6 separate regions of the Homo sapiens genome follow, and regions 2, 3, 4, 5 and 6 are each linked to region 1. The links are contacts of gene promoters, found by promoter capture Hi-C in blood cells and fetal thymus (Javierre and others, 2016). All regions are on one chromosome and are shown on one strand. Each heading gives the region's core, a stretch centred on a gene start or on the middle of the fragment in contact. The rest is flanking DNA. Distances are from core to core; before and after follow the strand shown. Region 1 holds the start of KRR1 (KRR1 small subunit processome component). Region 2 overlaps ZDHHC17 (zDHHC palmitoyltransferase 17). Region 3 overlaps LOC105369850 (a long non-coding RNA gene). Region 4 overlaps LOC105369850 (a long non-coding RNA gene). Region 5 overlaps OSBPL8 (oxysterol binding protein like 8). Region 6 overlaps OSBPL8 (oxysterol binding protein like 8).

The links. Contacts are between HindIII fragments. The CHiCAGO score rates a contact against its expected background, and 5 or more counts as called.
Region 2: a fragment that was not itself captured here is called in contact with the fragment with the promoter of KRR1 in region 1 in 3 of 17 cell types (naive B cells, total B cells and non-activated CD4 T cells); the score reaches 7.5 in naive B cells.
Region 3: a contact is called between a fragment that was not itself captured here and the fragment with the promoter of KRR1 in region 1, in 1 of 17 cell types (total B cells). The highest score is 6.5, in total B cells.
Region 4: a fragment that was not itself captured here is called in contact with the fragment with the promoter of KRR1 in region 1 in 4 of 17 cell types (total CD4 T cells, naive B cells, non-activated CD4 T cells and 1 more); the score reaches 7.4 in total CD4 T cells.
Region 5: a fragment that was not itself captured here is called in contact with the fragment with the promoter of KRR1 in region 1 in 1 of 17 cell types (total CD4 T cells); the score reaches 6.5 in total CD4 T cells.
Region 6: a contact is called between a fragment that was not itself captured here and the fragment with the promoter of KRR1 in region 1, in 2 of 17 cell types (total B cells and naive B cells). The highest score is 9.9, in total B cells.

Annotation. Positions count from the first base shown.
Region 1 is chr12:75,510,184-75,512,932 of GRCh38, reverse strand. It overlaps KRR1 (KRR1 small subunit processome component), which reads left to right and starts at 1,324. Exons shown (of 10, transcript NM_007043.7): 1 at 1,324-1,420. The coding sequence starts at 1,336. RefSeq lists enhancers at 1,357-1,516, 1,023-1,566, 1,567-2,111. The HindIII fragment of the contact is 5,214 bases long and covers 1-2,749 here.
Region 2 is chr12:76,768,047-76,770,795 of GRCh38, reverse strand. The region is part of intron 1 of ZDHHC17 (zDHHC palmitoyltransferase 17); the gene reads right to left. Among named protein-coding and RNA genes, the nearest start is that of ZDHHC17, 5.3 kb to the right of the region's middle. The HindIII fragment of the contact is 630 bases long and covers 1,116-1,745 here.
Region 3 is chr12:76,606,897-76,609,645 of GRCh38, reverse strand. The region is part of intron 3 of LOC105369850 (a long non-coding RNA gene); the gene reads right to left. Among named protein-coding and RNA genes, the nearest start is that of OSBPL8, 48 kb to the right of the region's middle. RefSeq lists an enhancer at 569-1,768. The HindIII fragment of the contact is 2,351 bases long and covers 166-2,516 here.
Region 4 is chr12:76,590,829-76,593,577 of GRCh38, reverse strand. All of the region lies in intron 3 of LOC105369850 (a long non-coding RNA gene), which reads right to left. Among named protein-coding and RNA genes, the nearest start is that of OSBPL8, 32 kb to the right of the region's middle. The HindIII fragment of the contact is 1,394 bases long and covers 734-2,127 here.
Region 5 is chr12:76,535,464-76,538,212 of GRCh38, reverse strand. The region is part of intron 1 of OSBPL8 (oxysterol binding protein like 8); the gene reads left to right. Among named protein-coding and RNA genes, the nearest start is that of OSBPL8, 23 kb to the left of the region's middle. The HindIII fragment of the contact is 6,225 bases long and covers 1-2,749 here.
Region 6 is chr12:76,511,862-76,514,610 of GRCh38, reverse strand. The region is part of intron 1 of OSBPL8 (oxysterol binding protein like 8); the gene reads left to right. Among named protein-coding and RNA genes, the nearest start is that of OSBPL8, 47 kb to the left of the region's middle. The HindIII fragment of the contact is 3,113 bases long and covers 1-2,749 here.

The DNA.
Region 1 (2,749 bases), core at 75-2,574:
ATATTATTTCTAGACTATTCCCTCCCCTTAATCCCTATCAGCCCTCTAACACATTTGAAGCTCCTAATGAATAGTAGCCCCCTGAAGCTGCTAGGTCAAACTGCCTGAACTTGAAGACGGGCCTTCCACTTATTAGTGATTGAGTTACTTAAAATAAGAATGATAAAAACCTGCTTCATGAGGTGTACTCCTCACTTTATAACTTTCACCTGCTGCTATCTGTTCTATTTTAGGAATTTATCATTTTTTGAGGAAATTAAAAGAACAGAGATAAAATCCCTGTCATTTATAAAACTCACAGGATAAAAACAAAAAACCCCTCTGTCGTGGGTTCTTCTGTCCATATGTAACAATCTGTTTCATACCTGGATCTCATATATGAAAACCTAAATTATTGTATAAGATACACGAGAGTGGATTTATCAGACAAACGTGTATTTCACTAATGCAAGGAATTTAACCTATCAAAGACTTTCCCTATTTGCTGCAGAAAATTTTAGAAATGCAAGCAATAAAATCAAAATTTAAAAAAATCTTATATTTGGCATGTCGAAGAACTCTTATACTTCCAAAAGTGTAGTTATTTGTAGTTAGTGATGAACCTCTCTACACATCTTAGCCCTATGTAATGTTGGGGGTAGAAAAGGAGTTTAGAGATTTTGAGAAATCTTAGGCTAGTTGAAATACTTCAGAAACGTCAGGATGTTGAATTACCATCCCTCTGACTTAGAGAAATACCAACACTCGGGAAGATTACCATCAGAAACAACTTTGAAAAGTTTAATTTTGTCACTGTTTTTAAAATTAGAAATAATGTAAATAAAGTACTGAAACAAAGTAGTCTCACAATAAATAGTAGCTATTCCTGTCACTTGTTGCAGTGGAGGCCCAATATACATTGTATTCTCATATTTGTACTTCCTCCCAACATCTAGCGCATATTTGGCCAACATATAAATATTTATCGAAAGAATGAATGACATCAATGACAGGTTGGTAGCACTCCGCTGTCCGATGGTCCAGGTTAGGCCGTGAGGCCACGAGGAAACTACGGATAAAACAGTATCCAATTTGCCTATACCGCCTGCTAAACTACAAGTCCCAGTACGCAAACTCCATGGTTTCAGGGCATACTGGGAGAAAGTCTCCGGCTCTTCATTGGCCACGTAGGAGAAGCTGTGGTTTGTGTAAAAGCGCGGGCTTAACGCACGTACGCACGGAGACTGCGCAGATCTCCTCGTCTGAGTTCCGCGGAACTCATTTTGAGTGTAGGCGTTTTAGCCGGTAGGGTTTAAGAACAGTTTCATTTCCGGAGCCACCGGAAGCAGCTTGCAAATGGCGTCTCCCTCGCTGGAGCGGCCAGAAAAAGGCGCTGGAAAAAGTGAATTTCGTAACCAGAAGCCGAAGCCGGAGAACCAAGGTGATGTTATGTGGGAACCGAAGCCTGGGGTTTGTGTACGTTGAGTTGCGATGTTTTTTTCTTTCGTTCCTCGTGGACTTATAAAACCACCTGGAGCCTGTACTGTGTAGTTGAGTACCTGAATAATCGCTGATAAGATTTTGGCTGGGCCCACAGGAACGGCTGGCCGATATGGTGCCACCCAGGTGTTCCTAATTCATTGCTTTTGCTAAAGGGTCCCCAAAGCGAAGCTGTTGCGGATTACGTCTTTTGTAAAAGGATGAGTATTAAGAAAATGCCTAGGGCGACGCAGAACCTTGTAAGCCTGCGGGTGGCTGAAAGTCACTGACGGAATGAGGAATAGGGTGAGGTGGGAATAGGTAGTCATGATATACAAGAGTGGACCCTGATAATGGGGTGAGGTATGGGGAAAGGAGCTATCCGACATGTCCTTAGCTCTAGTTTGTCAGTAAAGACATTTTGAAAGATTATCAATTCCTGTTTGTCAGATGCTAAAATATTAGACGACACAGCCCTTACTGTTTAGGTTGTGTTACCTTTTAATTGTTAACTCCTGCGTTGTAGTCTGGTTTTACCCGTTTTCTTCAGTGTGAATGATAGAGAAGTCATAAATAGCCTGGGGATCTGTTCAACCAGGCTTATAGGAAGTGTTAAAAACATTGAACTCTCAATTTAGATGCATTGGGAAAGTATTCAAAGTTTCTTTGTTGTTGCTCATTAAATGATTATGTAACGTACATAGCAGGGGATACAACTTATATAGAGTTTAATAAAACCATGCGGGAAACTAGCATTCAGACTAAGTAAAATAGAGCATTACCATACCCCTCAAACCCTTACGTGCACCTCTCAGATCATATTCTCTTTTCCTGTATCAGACGTAACCACCCTGAATTGTGTTGCATTCTGTTCCTCTTCTTGTAGTCATGAAGTGGCTTAATTTAGCCTGTTTTTTAATTTTATATACATGAAAGTGGACCGTATGCATTTTTCTGTGTCTTCTTAGATTTAGCTTTTTGTTTTTCAAACAGGGTGATACTTGCGGGTGTAGTTTTAGTCTTTTCACTGTTATGTGGTGTTTCCTTGTATGAATATACCCCAATTTATTTTTTCATTTTACTATCGGTGGACATTTGGATTGTTCCCAATTGCTTGCAATTATAAACAATACTGCTAAAACATCTTTGTACATGTCTTCTGGTTAACATGTTCAAGGGTTTCTCTAGGTTGTGAACATAGGATTGGAATCACTGAAGTGTAGGGTGTGTGTAAGTAATGCTAACTTTTTTCCAAAGTGCTAGTGTCAGTTTTGTTCCCACTAGGAGTGGA
Region 2 (2,749 bases), core at 181-2,680, 1.3 Mb before region 1:
CCGGCTAATTTTTTATTTTTAGTAGAGACGGGGTTTCTCCATGTTGGTCAGGCTGGTCTCGAACTCCCGACCTCAGGAGATCTGCCAGCCTCAGCCTCCCAAAGTGCCGCAATTACAGGCGTAAGCCACCAAGCCCGGCCAGCACACTGCATTTTAAGACACCTTAACTGTTCAATGCTGACTACCTTAACATACCCTTACAACCCTCTCTAGGAGGAAAGGAGGACCACGAATCATTTCTAATTTTAAAAAATACACACAGACACACTCTCCCTCATCTATCCTGAGGTATCTGAAGGTCTACAGTTAATCTTACATCATTTTACAATGTGTTATTTTGTAAATGTTATTACTTCGGAGCCTAGCAAAGGGTCAAGACCATACTTGGATTCTCAATAAACACTCCCTTGTAGCAAAGCACACGTCTTTAAAAACATCAAATAGGGCAAAAGGGCTTATAATAAGAAGTCCTCTGCCCATCTTCTCTTCAATCCCCAGAGACAACCAATACTAATTATTTTAGCCACTCTAATATATGCATACTACAATTGTTTATCAATTTGAGGTACTACTTTTTACCACAATATTAATAGCCAACACTTATTGTTGTTTACTAAGTGCCAGACACAGAACTTCACATGTATTATCTCACTTAATCCTCACAACAGCCTCATAAAGTAGGTGTTATTATACCCCCATTTTAGTTTGGAAAATTGGGATGCAGAGTTCAATAACGTGCCCAGGATTGCAAGCTAGTGAGCAGAATTGAGATTTGAATCCTAACACCATTGCTCACTTTTAACCTATATACTCTTATATCCACCAACTCCACAGTCCACTCTTAATAAATACTTTTGAGATCCTCCCAAATTAAATAAAAATAATGAACAAAATAAAACAAGCCGAATCAGGAAAATGACATTTCTCAAAACCAGAACAATTTTTTGGTCAGTAATTTTCAACTCTGGCTTTGAGCACAATCCATGAAGTCTCACCAATTAATCACATTTTAATTTTATATCTATTGACTCAGTGATTACTAAGCTTAATAGTAATGCTCAGTGGTTACTGGGCTTAACAGTGGTCACTATACTAAGCATAGTAGTTACTAAGCTTAATATATAGTATTTTAAAATATACATTATTTTAAAATCTAGATTATTATTATATGACCTATAACATTTTTGCTGAATTTTTTAAAAGGCATCAAATCCTAGTGACTGCATAAAGAAGTGCTTTGAAGGAAAAGAGTTGCAGGTAACCTATGGGAAGAAAAACAACTTTCAAAGTCATTTTGTATCTGCTTTCTGAAAGCAAATGAATTACCTTATATGTGTACAAATACATATATATACACACACACATATAATATATACATAATAGGGCAAAAAGTAATAGAAAATGGCAAAATTCTTTTCACTAAAGAACAGCTTCATGGCCGAGCATGGTGGCTCATGCCTGTAACCCCAGCAGTTTGGGAGGCCGAGGCGGGTGGATCACCTGAGGTCAGGCGTTCCAGACCAGCCTGGCCAACATGGTGAAACCCCATCTCTACTAGAAATACAAAAAATTAGCCACGTGTGGTGGCAGGCACCTGTAATCCCAGCTACTCGGGAGGCTGATGCAGGAGAATCGCTTGAACGCAGGAGGCTGAGGTTGCAGTAAGCCGAGATCACGTCATTGCACTTCAGCCTGGGCAACAAGAGCGCAACTCCATCTCAAACTAAAGCAAAAAACCAAAAGCTTCAAAAAGTAGATTTTATGAAATCTGTGAGGACAGTAGATAATAGCAATAGTTTGATTTAATATTCAAACAGAAATCATCAGAAATAATAAAATGAATGTGAAATAAAAAACGTTACCATAAAAAGAGAGACGAAAATGAGAAAAAAAGGCAATAGCAGAAGTTTTGAAATAGAGAAAAAAGGAAGAAAGAAAGAGATGAAAGCCCTAGATAATCTAGGCAATCCAGTTCAAAGCTCTGAGTCAGATGGTTCTGAAATAGCCCCTGTGATACTGTGGCAGAAGGGGATATTGTGATCTCATTCTATCAAAGAGCTGAGATGACTTACTGAGGATGTACTAGTAGGTAAAATGGAAGCTGGTCATGGCTAGTCTGCTGGACCAGTAGACCAACATATGGTCTCTGTCCCTCTACGGAAGCCTTTCTTCTAACCACTCTAAATGACAGGAATCTGACACCACTTACAAGCTACATTACTTAATTCAGTACTTATTTGAATCGTCCAGTGTTTCACGTGCCTACAACTTCCCAACTAGTTATTTACCTTCTGGAAAACATATGCTATCTTTTTTATGTTATTTTAACCCATATAACCTAACACAATGCTACGTACCTAGTAGACAGATGCTCAAGTTGATTATATTGAAAAATCACAATTTAAAACCAGAACACTTGAGTCTGAAGAAATCTTAGAGGTCATCTAGTCTAGCTACTTTATCTTAAAAGCAACAAAACTGAGACCAGTTAAATACCTACTAGCTCAAGGTCACTGAGCTAGAACTAGTACCCTAATCCCTTGATCATCAGTTCTTCTTTATCCAAAGAGCCTTTAATTTCTTTCATTTCAATAAAACAAATAATCACCTATTTCAAAAGAAAACAAAGTAACAGCAGCTTCCCTTTCAGTATTCACTATATGCCAGGGCCTTCAGAAGGTACAATTTGCTTGGCAGCCTATGTGCCTAGGTCTATGAAAACTGCTTTATAAACATTAGCCTAGTTAAT
Region 3 (2,749 bases), core at 92-2,591, 1.1 Mb before region 1:
TTTTTTTGTATTTTTAGTAGAGACGGGGTTTCACCGTGTTAGCCAGGATGGTCTCCATCTCCTGACCTCGTGATCCACCTGCCTCGGCCTCCCAAAGTGTTGGGATTACAGGCGTGAGCCACTGCGTCTGGCCAGAGACCAAAGTTTTATTGTGTAGAGGAAGCTTTTAGCTAGCAGGCTTCAGAGAGAAGAGGCTGTACAATGTTTTCTTATCGGATTTAAAAGGATGCCTGACTCTTAGTTGATTATCTCCTGGATCTGGAAAGAAAAAAAAAAGGGCAGGGAAAGGCGGTTCTCTACAGAATGTGGATTTTTCCCAAAAGAGACAACTTTGCAGGGCCATTTCAAGAATATGACAAGGAAATACACTTGGGTTTTAAAATATTTTGATTTATTTCCTTGTTATGTGATGTTATGCCAGAGTCAGGTGAGAAAGAAGGTCAGATTATAGAGGGTTAAATAAAACCTCTCTGATGAGACTTTATGGTTTGCAGGGTGTGTCTCCCCCAGGCCCCTTAGGTAGGAATTTGGGCAATATAAGAAAAAAAAAGTCAGTGTTTAGTCTTCAAGACCCAAATGAGCTAGACTGGTGGGGAATGGGGGATTTATAATAAGTAATGAGTTTGCCTCACAGAACCCAAGGACAGAGATACAGCAGGACTTCAATGGCCAGCTGGAAGCAAGGCCCCACACACCATCAGGAAACCAAGAGGCCCTCCTTCGCAGGCCTCAGCTTCCCCTCCAAGTCTCCTTCATTCTTCAGTCTCTGCACACTGTCTCTCCCTGTTTTTCGGGACATGGAGCAGAAAGTATTAACCATCAACAACTCCCACACTAGATTATATCTCCTATGTTTGAAAGAGTTGAAATCTTTGGTCTCAATTCCAAATCTCAAAGGAAGGAGTCTCATTGGCCCAGTTTGGTCCCCAGCATGTCCCTAGAATGAATGTCTATCCCTAAGAGGAGAGAAGAGTGTCACAGTTGAGGAAGACTGTATCTTCATATGGATTGAGGAGGTGAGCTCCAAATTCCCAGAACACAGAGAAAGAGGACATTTCCTAGCAAATCAGAAGACTTGGTCCAAAAGATGTTCTATGGATGCCTCTCTAATTAATAAGCAGATTCTTTAAAAAATGATTCTACCTTAGTTGACTGCATTTATGCCTTTCATGAATAAAGTCACCCTATTCCATCGGAAATATAATGTACTCTTGATAGATTCAGGAGGCAGATGAGGGAGGGTACTCAGAGAATCTCCAACTCACCCCACAAGTGTTTACATCAGATGCTTTTCGTGCATATGAGAGAACCTGCCCAGGGCCTTGTCTGGGCATGCCCACATCTGACTGGGGGACCGCCCGCGCACTGGGAGAGTGGGGTGGAGCCACCGGGAATTCGCACCTTGAGCACGGCAGAGGAGCCTAGCCTCTTCACCTCGTGTGTGCTGGCCGGGCATTCAGTCTGTCAGTTGGGAGCCTGTTGGCAGGCCCCCTTTTCTTCACTGAGAGCTTTCTTTTAATAAATTTCACTCTCCTCACCTTTCAATGTGTCCACATGCTTAATTTTTCGTGGTCATGTGACAAGAACCTGGATTTTAGCTGAATTAGGGAGCAAAAAATCCTGCATCACTCTGTATCAGTATATTTCAGGTTTATTATCAGTACTTATTTGTGATGGTTGGCGTTTTCAAGGCAGTATTTATAGCCTCACTCAAATAAATTCATGTTCCCATTTCAACTGATTGATTTGGAAGAAAGGCTCACATGCTTATGTGTCATTCTGACCCACGTGAACTCTTCACTAAAAAAGTTAAAAGTGTTTCAAGCTAATAAACACTAAGAAGCAATGATCTTTTCTTGCTTTATTGGGGGAATGAAAGGAGGGGAATCAAGAGAGAAGAGGCATTTTTCAATTTACCAAGGTTTGAGCATGTATATTTAATTTTTACCTGAGTGATCTATTTTCTTCTACTTATTATAGTAATCTATTTTCTTAATTTCAAAAATATGAAATAAAAGTCATTTAGGAAACATTCAGTAAAAAGTTGCTGTTGCCTAGCTTTTCCATACCTGGAGAGTTTGGAATTTCTAGCAGAATACAAAGAATGGGAGAAATTTTGATTGCCCAAGAAAATGGCCATTCATTCATTCAATCAACAAATATGTATTAATCTCATGCTATTGCCTGGTGCTTGGCATACAGTGATCAGTGAAATAGACAAACTCTCAGCATTTCTGGAGATTACATTCTAGGAGGAGAGATGGCAAATAAACAAACAAATACATGAAATTGTGTCATGTGGTGATAATCAATATAAAGGAAAATAAAAAATAGTATAAAAAGAGAGAGTGAAAAGGGTGCTAGGTTAACCATCGTGAGCAATCAAGGAAGCCTCTTTGGAAAGGTGATACATGGGTAAAACGATAAACCAAAGGAGAGTCCACCATGCTAATATTTGAGAGATAAGGGCCTTTGAAACTGAGTTTTGGTTGATTCCAGACAGGCTCTAACAAGCTTTTTAAAGTCTTCAGGTGAATCTTTCTATGGGACATCTTAGTTTGGGCAAGGAGGGCAATGGTTCCTATACCCTCCATCAGCCCTCCACTGCAGGCTCTGGCTCTGTTCCATGATTATTCTCTTGCTTCTCTTTGGCCACAAAAAACAATTACTCTGCCAAGTGCCTCAGTTATTCAGACTTTCTGGAGAATGCCACAGCTATTTCCACCAACCATAGATGGCTATCCTCAGA
Region 4 (2,749 bases), core at 181-2,680, 1.1 Mb before region 1:
GTGGTGATAACTGACCTTGATTACCCATATGAAATAGAGTTGCTGCTACCCAATGGAGACAGGAAGTCCGATGCATGGAACACATAGGATTCACTGAGTTATTTCTTCGTGCTCCATGTCTGGTGATAAGTATAAATGGGTAATTGTAATAATTAAGACTCACTGAAGAGCAAGAATTAGAGTTCAGACCCTTCAGAGATGATGATCTGGTTGCCCCCACCCAGTCAAGCAACACAGACTCCCTGAAATGGTAGCCAGGATGAGACAAACTAGAATAATCTTTTTCACATCCTTTCAGCCTACCTTTTATACCAACTATTGCTATGGCAACCAGTTTTGTGCAACTGTACCACATATTTATCATTTCAAAACCTGTGCTGCTCTGATGATATGGCATGGATGCCAATGAGAACCCACTCTGCGCTTAGGCATGTACAACCTGGAAGAGTAAAGAAGTTAACACTCTCTGGGACAATCTTTGACTGCACTTGTAATCTATTGCTGGATAACAAGTTACCAAATCTAGCAGCCTAAAACAATAACATGTATTATATCCCAGTTTCTGTGGTCAAGAGTACAGACACAGCTTATTTGGATTTTCTGCTTCCAGGTCTCTCCAGGCTAGAGTCAATGCATCAGGTGGGCTGTGTTCTCATTGGGAAGCTCATCTGCTCCCAAGCTCATATGGTTTGCCGAACGAATTTATTTCATTGAGGATATAGGACTGAAAGCTTCAGTGTGCTGGTTGGCTGTCAGCTGGAGGATGCCATTAGCTCCTAGAGTCCATTCAAGTTGCCTGCCATGTGGTCTACTCCATAGGCAGCAACATAGCAGTTTGCTTCTTCATGGCCAGCAGAAGAGTCTACTAGCAATATGAAGTCTTACATAACATAATGTTATCATAGGAATGCCATTCTGTCACCTTTGCCATATTCTATAAGTTAGATGCTTCACAGATTCCTCCCATATTCATGGGATGTAATTAACAGGGGCATTGATATCAGAAAGTGGGGGTCATTGGAGAATCAGCCTAGGTTCTGTCTGCCAGTCTTTCCTCAGGCCCTCCCATATGAAATATATGGTTTCTCCCCTTCCAAGGTTCCTGTATTAGTCCGTTTTCACACTGCTGATAAAGACATACCTGAGACTGGGAAGAAAAAGAGGTTTAATTGGACTTACATGGCTGGGGAGGCCTCAGAATCATGCTGAGAGGTGAAAGGTACTTCTTACATGGCGGCGGCAAGAGAAAATGAAGAAGATGCAGAAGTGGAAACCCCTGATAAAACCCCTGATAAAACCATCAGATATCGTGAGACTTATTTGCTACCATGAGAACAGTATGGGGGAACCTCCCCCATAATTCAAATTATCTCCCACCAGGGCCCCTCCCACAACCCATGGGAATTGTGGGAGTACAATTCAAGATGAGATTTGGGTGGGGACACAGAGACAAACCATATCAGTTCCCAAGAGTTTCATTCATTATAGCATCAGCTCAAATTCTAAAATTTCATCATGTGAATCAAGTCCAGGTGCAGATGAGCCTCCTACGTATAACCTGTTAAGTAAAGCTCCTGGACACAATTATTCTCTAACTATGGACCTCTGAAACCAAGGAAATGAGTTATCTGCCTCCAACACACCCAACATACAATGGTGGGACAGACACAGGATAATAGCTATAGACATTCCAGTTTAAAAATAGGGGAAATGGGTAGTAAAAAGGAGTCACTAGTCTATAGCAGTTTTGAAATACAACTGGATTTATTGGAAGTTCCTTAATTAAGTTTCTAGGCTTGGGAATGATTCTTCATGGCTCTTGGCTCTGCTTTCTGGGTTCTTGGTTCCACCATCTGAGTCATTCTTCCTTTTTCATGGAAGGTAGCATGTGTTTGCAGATGAGTAGTTTTATCAGCCTGCTTTCTGCCAGTAAAATTTTGGAGGTCTGACAGCCTCTTTTCATTTTCTAGTCTTTCTGTCTGTCTTATTCCAAGTTGGCACTGTTTCTGCAGAAATAATTTTCTCAAGAATGTTGTGGTTCTTTCTGTATTTCAGTGGCATTCACTCTTATCAGACAAAGGCCACATCTACAGATTGTTTCAAAAATAATTCCATCTCCTTTAAGCTTCCTAGAGGCTCAATAGTGTGATTGAGAGGATCTGAGGCATACCCTTAGATCTTTTCAAATCTAAGGGCCGTATCTTGAAATACCCCTGAGTACTCTGACCTTTGATCTTTTGGGGGCTTTAAAAAAGATTATAGAGTAACTTCAAGTGCATTTTCTCTAGAGTAGGCTTTTCTGACAGTGCCCAAAAGCCATCTCCAACTGTTAATATTTTTTGCCATCTGGGGAAGATGAGGATTTTTTAAATTATCAAGTCCTGATTCCTTTTTGCTTAATAGTTCTTCTCTCAATTTGTCTCTTTTCTTGAATTTTCCTGTAAGTAGCAAGAAGAAACCAGTTGTCCCCTTCAACACTTTGCTTGGAAATCTCCTTAACTATATAACCAAATTCATCCATTTACAAGTTCTGCTTTCAACGTAATTGCAAGAAATAATTTCACTAAGCTTTACGCCAGTACATAACAAGGATCTCCCTTCTTCCAGTTTCCTATAGCATGTTCCTTACTTCCTTCTGAGTCCTCAACAGCAGTCTTCAATATCCACATTTCTACTGAGAGTTTGTTCGCAGTGATTTGGGATTTGTCTATCATACTTTTCAAGCATTCTTCTAGTCTCTGTCCACTGA
Region 5 (2,749 bases), core at 126-2,625, 1.0 Mb before region 1:
TTAGTGACTACATTGATGTATAATATATGGGTTCAAAAAGCAAAAGTCGTTAAGGTTATTCTTTAACCTCTACATTCTCTACTCTGAGTCAAGGTCTCTAATTGGTATGGCCTTGATGTAGATGGAGCAGATAAAACCTTGTTAGTTAGCTGACTGCCACTATATAACAGCCTTTCTCAATAAAGAGACTTAAATTAATTTAACCCTGTAACTTTGTTGTCCTCAGCAATCTCCATTGGTGCTACTGCGTTTAAAGGTCAGTATTACTGTCTTTATTTATTTTATTTTATTTATTTATTTTTTAGACATGGAGTCTTGCTCTGTTGCCCAGGCTGGAGTGCAGTGGCACGATCTCAGCTCACTGCAACCTCTGCTTCCTGGGATCAAGTGATTCTCATGCCTCAGCCTCCTGAGTAGCTGGGATTACAGGCACCCACCACCATGCCCAGCTAATTTTTCTATCTTTAGTGGAGACGGGGTTTTACCATGTTAACCAGGCTGGTCTTGAACTCCTGACCTTAAGTTATCCACCTGCCTCAGCCTCCCAAAGTGTTGGGATTACAGGTGTGAGCCACCGTGCCTGGCCTGTTGTCCTTTAATATTTTATTTCTCATTGTGAATCTCTCTCATCGTACATTTCTGTAGATTTCTCTCATTCAGAGAACTTAATTTGCTCAAGTTATTACTATAACTATTATCTTTGTTATCTCTTCTCAGTGATAAGACATTGAAAATAATACTTTTCTGTATATGAAACACTGTTCTATAAGCAAAATCTTAAGATTTAAGTTAGTTTGCACATCATAACAGTGGTAACCCTGCATTCTTTAATTAAACACGTTTAAATGTATAAATGTAAAAACAGTTTAAAGTTATAAATGCCCAGGAATCCTGATCTTGGTCATACTATGTCTGTTGAAATACAATTTTAGTGTCTTGATACCTTTTAAGTAGTATGCTATGAAATAATTCTTGTTGTAGCTGATTAGTTACTTGGGCAGATTTTCTTGTATCTTATTTTCCAAATACCAGTCATTTATAGAAATCAGACTTTGCAAAATGTAAAGGCTTTCATAGTTTCAGAAGCACAGGGACAGCTGCACAGCAAGTCCATATGTTGCTTAGCTATAATTATATTTTAATAATTATAATTTTTTTTTCTTTTGGGAAGAACTGTGGCTAACCTCCAAGAGACTGAAGCTGGTAATTGTAAGCATTCTCATTTTTTAAACACAAAGATAGAACTTTTTATTTTTCTCTGTTTTAAATGGTTGAATATATTTATCATGTATCATAGCATCCACTGGATGAAGTTACATTTCTGGGTCCTACTGTAACATTTAAATGAGTGTTCGCGTCAGATGGGAAGATTACTCGTTTTTTTTTTTTTTTTTTTGATACTCCTATATATGGATTTGCTGCCACAGGCATGCTAATTTTGCCATCTCATACATATGACTTGCTCCTTTCCGCCTCCGTTCTTCTGCACATTACCATTCCCTCCACCTGTAGGTCTCTCCTTCCTTTCCACCCATTTCCTTTTCTCTTTTCAAAAGTGGCATCTTAAGATAATTTCCTCTAGAAATTCTTTCAGGATTTATTCCATGTTACTTTTACTTATTTTCTTTGCTTCACCTTAACACTTACCATGGGTAGATACAAATTCAACTAATATGAATTGTGTTGCTGTAATTTACCAGCATACATAGTGTTAAGTAGTACAGTGATAAGATTAACTATCTCATCTATTTTTTACAGCTATCCTGTGAGTTATTCCCATTTTTACAGACAAAATTAATTATCTCAGTTACACTCTTGGTTTTAGTTGGGCTTGATTTTTTTTTTGGTATTTTTAGTATTTAATATTTAGTATTTTAGTATTTAGTATTTGGTATTTTTAGTTTCACCATGTTGGCCAGGCAGGTCTCTAACTTTTGACCTCAGGTGATCTGCCCGACTCGCCTTCCCAAAGCGCTAGGATTACAAGTGTGAGCCACCACACCAGGCCTAGTTGTGCTAGATTTTTTACATTTTTTCTGATTTTAAACATTGTTACTTAAACAGCATCATTTTGCCTTTCGCTACTTCTGTAGTCTTTCCTGCTTTCCACCTCACACCCCCCCAATATCACTTAAAAAAAATACTAAAAAAAACCCAAACTACTTTATTCAGGTATAATTTACACCTGAATAAAATGAAACCATTTTAAGTACATAGTTTGATTCATTTTGACAGATGTATACACCCATGTTACTGCTACCACAATAGATACAGATATAGAACTTTCCATCAGTCCCCAAAATTCTCTTGTGCCCTTTGAACTTAATCTTTCCCTTTCCTACTCTATGTCAGACAATGACTGATTCGGGTTCTGTTACTGTGGATTGCTTTTGTCTGTTCTAAGATTTCATATGAACGGAATCATAGAGTATGTACTCTTGTCTGGTTTATTTTGCCCTGCATATTTTTGAGATTATTCCTTTTTATTTTGGGATAGTATTCCATGGTATAGGAATACTATTACAGTATTGTAATGAATATCCAATTTGTTTATCCATTCACCTTTTGATAGACATTTGACTTGTTTGTAATTTTCGGTTATTGTAAATGAAGCTACTGTGAACATCCATGTACAAATTTTTGAGTGGACATGTTTCCATTTTTCTTTGGTAAATACTTAAGAGTAGCTGTACCATTTTGCATCTCACCAGCAATGTATGAGAGTTCCAGTTGCTCCCCTTCTCATCAA
Region 6 (2,749 bases), core at 84-2,583, 1.0 Mb before region 1:
TTTCCAAGATTGAAATGAAAGAAAAAATGTTAAAGGTAGGTCATCTGCAAAGGCAACCCCATCAGGCTAACAGCAGATCTCTCAGCTGAAACCCTACAAGCCAGAAGAGATTGAGGAGGGCCTACAACATACTTAAAGAAAAAATTGTTCAACAAAGAATTTCATTTCTAGCCGGCTCATGCTTGTAATCCCAGCACTTTGGGAGGCTGAAGCGGGTAGATCACAAGGTCAGGAGTTCAAGACCAGCCTGGCCAATATGGTGAAACCTGTCTCTACTAAAAATACAAAAAAAAAAAAAATTAGCTGGGCGTGGTGGCAGGCAGCTGTAGCCCCAGCTACTTGGGAGGCTAAGGCAGGAGAATCGCTTGAACCCGGGAGGCGGAGGTTGCAGTGAGCTGAGATCGCGCCACTGCAGCCCGGCCTGGGTGAAACAGTGAGACTCTATCTCAAAAAAAAGATCCTTTTCAGACAAGCAAATGTTGAGGGTATTTGTTAACCACCAGGCCTGCCTTACAAGAGATCTTGAAAGGAGCACTAAATATAGAAAGGAAAGACCACTACCAGCTAATACAAAAACACACTTAAACACACAGACTAGTGACACTATAAGACAACCACACAAACAAGCCAACATAATAACCAGCCAACAACACAATGACAGGATCAAATCCACACATATTAATACTAACCTTCAGTGCCCCACTTAAAAGGCACAGAGCAACAAACTGGATAAAAAAGCAAGACCCAGTGCTATGCTGTCTTCAAAAGACTCACCTCACATGTAATGACACTCATAGGCTCAAAATAAAGGGATGGAGGAGAATCTACCAAACAAACAGAAAACCGGAAAAAAAAAAAAAAAAAAACCCAGGGGTTAGAATCCTAATTTCAGACAAAACAGACTTCAAACCAACAAAGATTAAAAAAAAAAAGAAGGGCATTACTAGTAAAGGGTTCAATCGAGCAAGACCTAACTATCCTAAATTTATATGCACCCAACACAGGAGCACCCAGATTTATCAAGCAAGTTCTTAGAAATCTACAAAAAGATGTAAACTCCCGCACGATAATAGTGGGAGACTTCAACACTCCACTGACAGTATTAGACAAGTCATCAAGGCAGAAAGTTAAAGATATTCAGGACCTGAACTCAACATTAGATCAAATGGATCTGACAGGCCTCTATGGAACTTTCCACCTTAAAACAACTGAATATACATTCTTCTTATCTCCACATGGAACATACTCCGAAAGCAATCACATAATTGGATATAAAACAATCCTTAGCAAATGCAAACGAACCAAAATCATACCAAACACGCTCTTGGACCACAGTGCAATACAAATAGAAGTCAAGACTAAGAAAATCCTCAAAATTCTGAAAGCAATCACATAATTGGATATAAAACAATCCTCAGCAAATGCAAACGAACCAAAATCATACCAAACATGCTCTTGGACCACAGTGCAATATAAATAGAAGTCAAGACTAAGAAAATCCTCAAAACCATGCAATTACATGAAAATTAAACAGCATGCTGCTGAATGACTTTTGGGTAAGTTCAGCAAAGTTTAAGGATGCAAAACCAATATACAAATATCAGTGGCATTCCTATACACCAAAAACAGCCAAGCCAAGAGCCACATCAGTGTCATTCACAATTGCCACAAAAAGAAAAAAGATACCTAGGAATATAGCTAACTGGGGAGGTGAAAGATCTGTATAATGAGAATTATAAAACACTGCTCAAAGAAATCAGAAAAGATGCAGACAAATGGAAAAACCTCCCATGCTCATGGATAGGAAGAATCAATATCATTGAAATGGCCATACTGCCCAAAGCAATTTACAGATTCATTGCTGTTGCTATCAAACTACTATCAGTATTCTTCACAGAACTAGAAAAAAACTATTTTAAAATTCATGTGGAACCAAAAAAGAGCCCAGCAGCCAAAGCTATCCTAAGCAAAAAGAACAAAGCTGGAGGCATCACGTTACCTGACTTCAAACTACGCTACAGGGTTACAGTAACAAAAACAGTATGGAACCTGTAGAAAAACAGACACATAGACAAATGGAACAGAATAGAGAGCCCAGAAATAAGGCTGCATACCTACAACCATCTGGTCTTTGACAAAGCTGACAAAAACAAGCAATGGGAAAAAGACTTTATATTCAATAAATTGTGCTGGGCTGTTCACAGTAACAAAGATATGGAATCAACCTAAATGCCCATCAGTGACAGACTGAAAAAAGAAAATGTACATATACACCATGGAATATTATACAGCCATAAAAAAGAACTAGATCATGTCTTTTGTGAGAACATGGGTGGAGCTGGAGGCTCTCTTCTTTAGCAAACTAACTCAGGAACAGAAAAACAGATACTGCATGTTCTCTCTTATAAGTGGGAGTTAAAGGATAAGAACTTGTGAACATAAAGAAGGAAACAACAGACACTGGGGTCTACTTGAGCGGGGAGGGTTATATGAGGTAGAGGAGCAGAAAAGATAACTATTGGGTACTGAGCTTAATACCTGGGTGATGTAATAATATGTTCAACGAACCCCCATGACATGTGTTTATCTATGTAACAAACCTTCACATGTACCAGCAAACCCAAAATAAAAATAAATTTAACAAGTTAAATGATGCTGGGATAACTGGCTAGCCATATGCAGAAGATTGGAGCTGGACCCCTTACACCATATATAAAAATGAACTCAAGGTGAATTAAAGACTTAAATG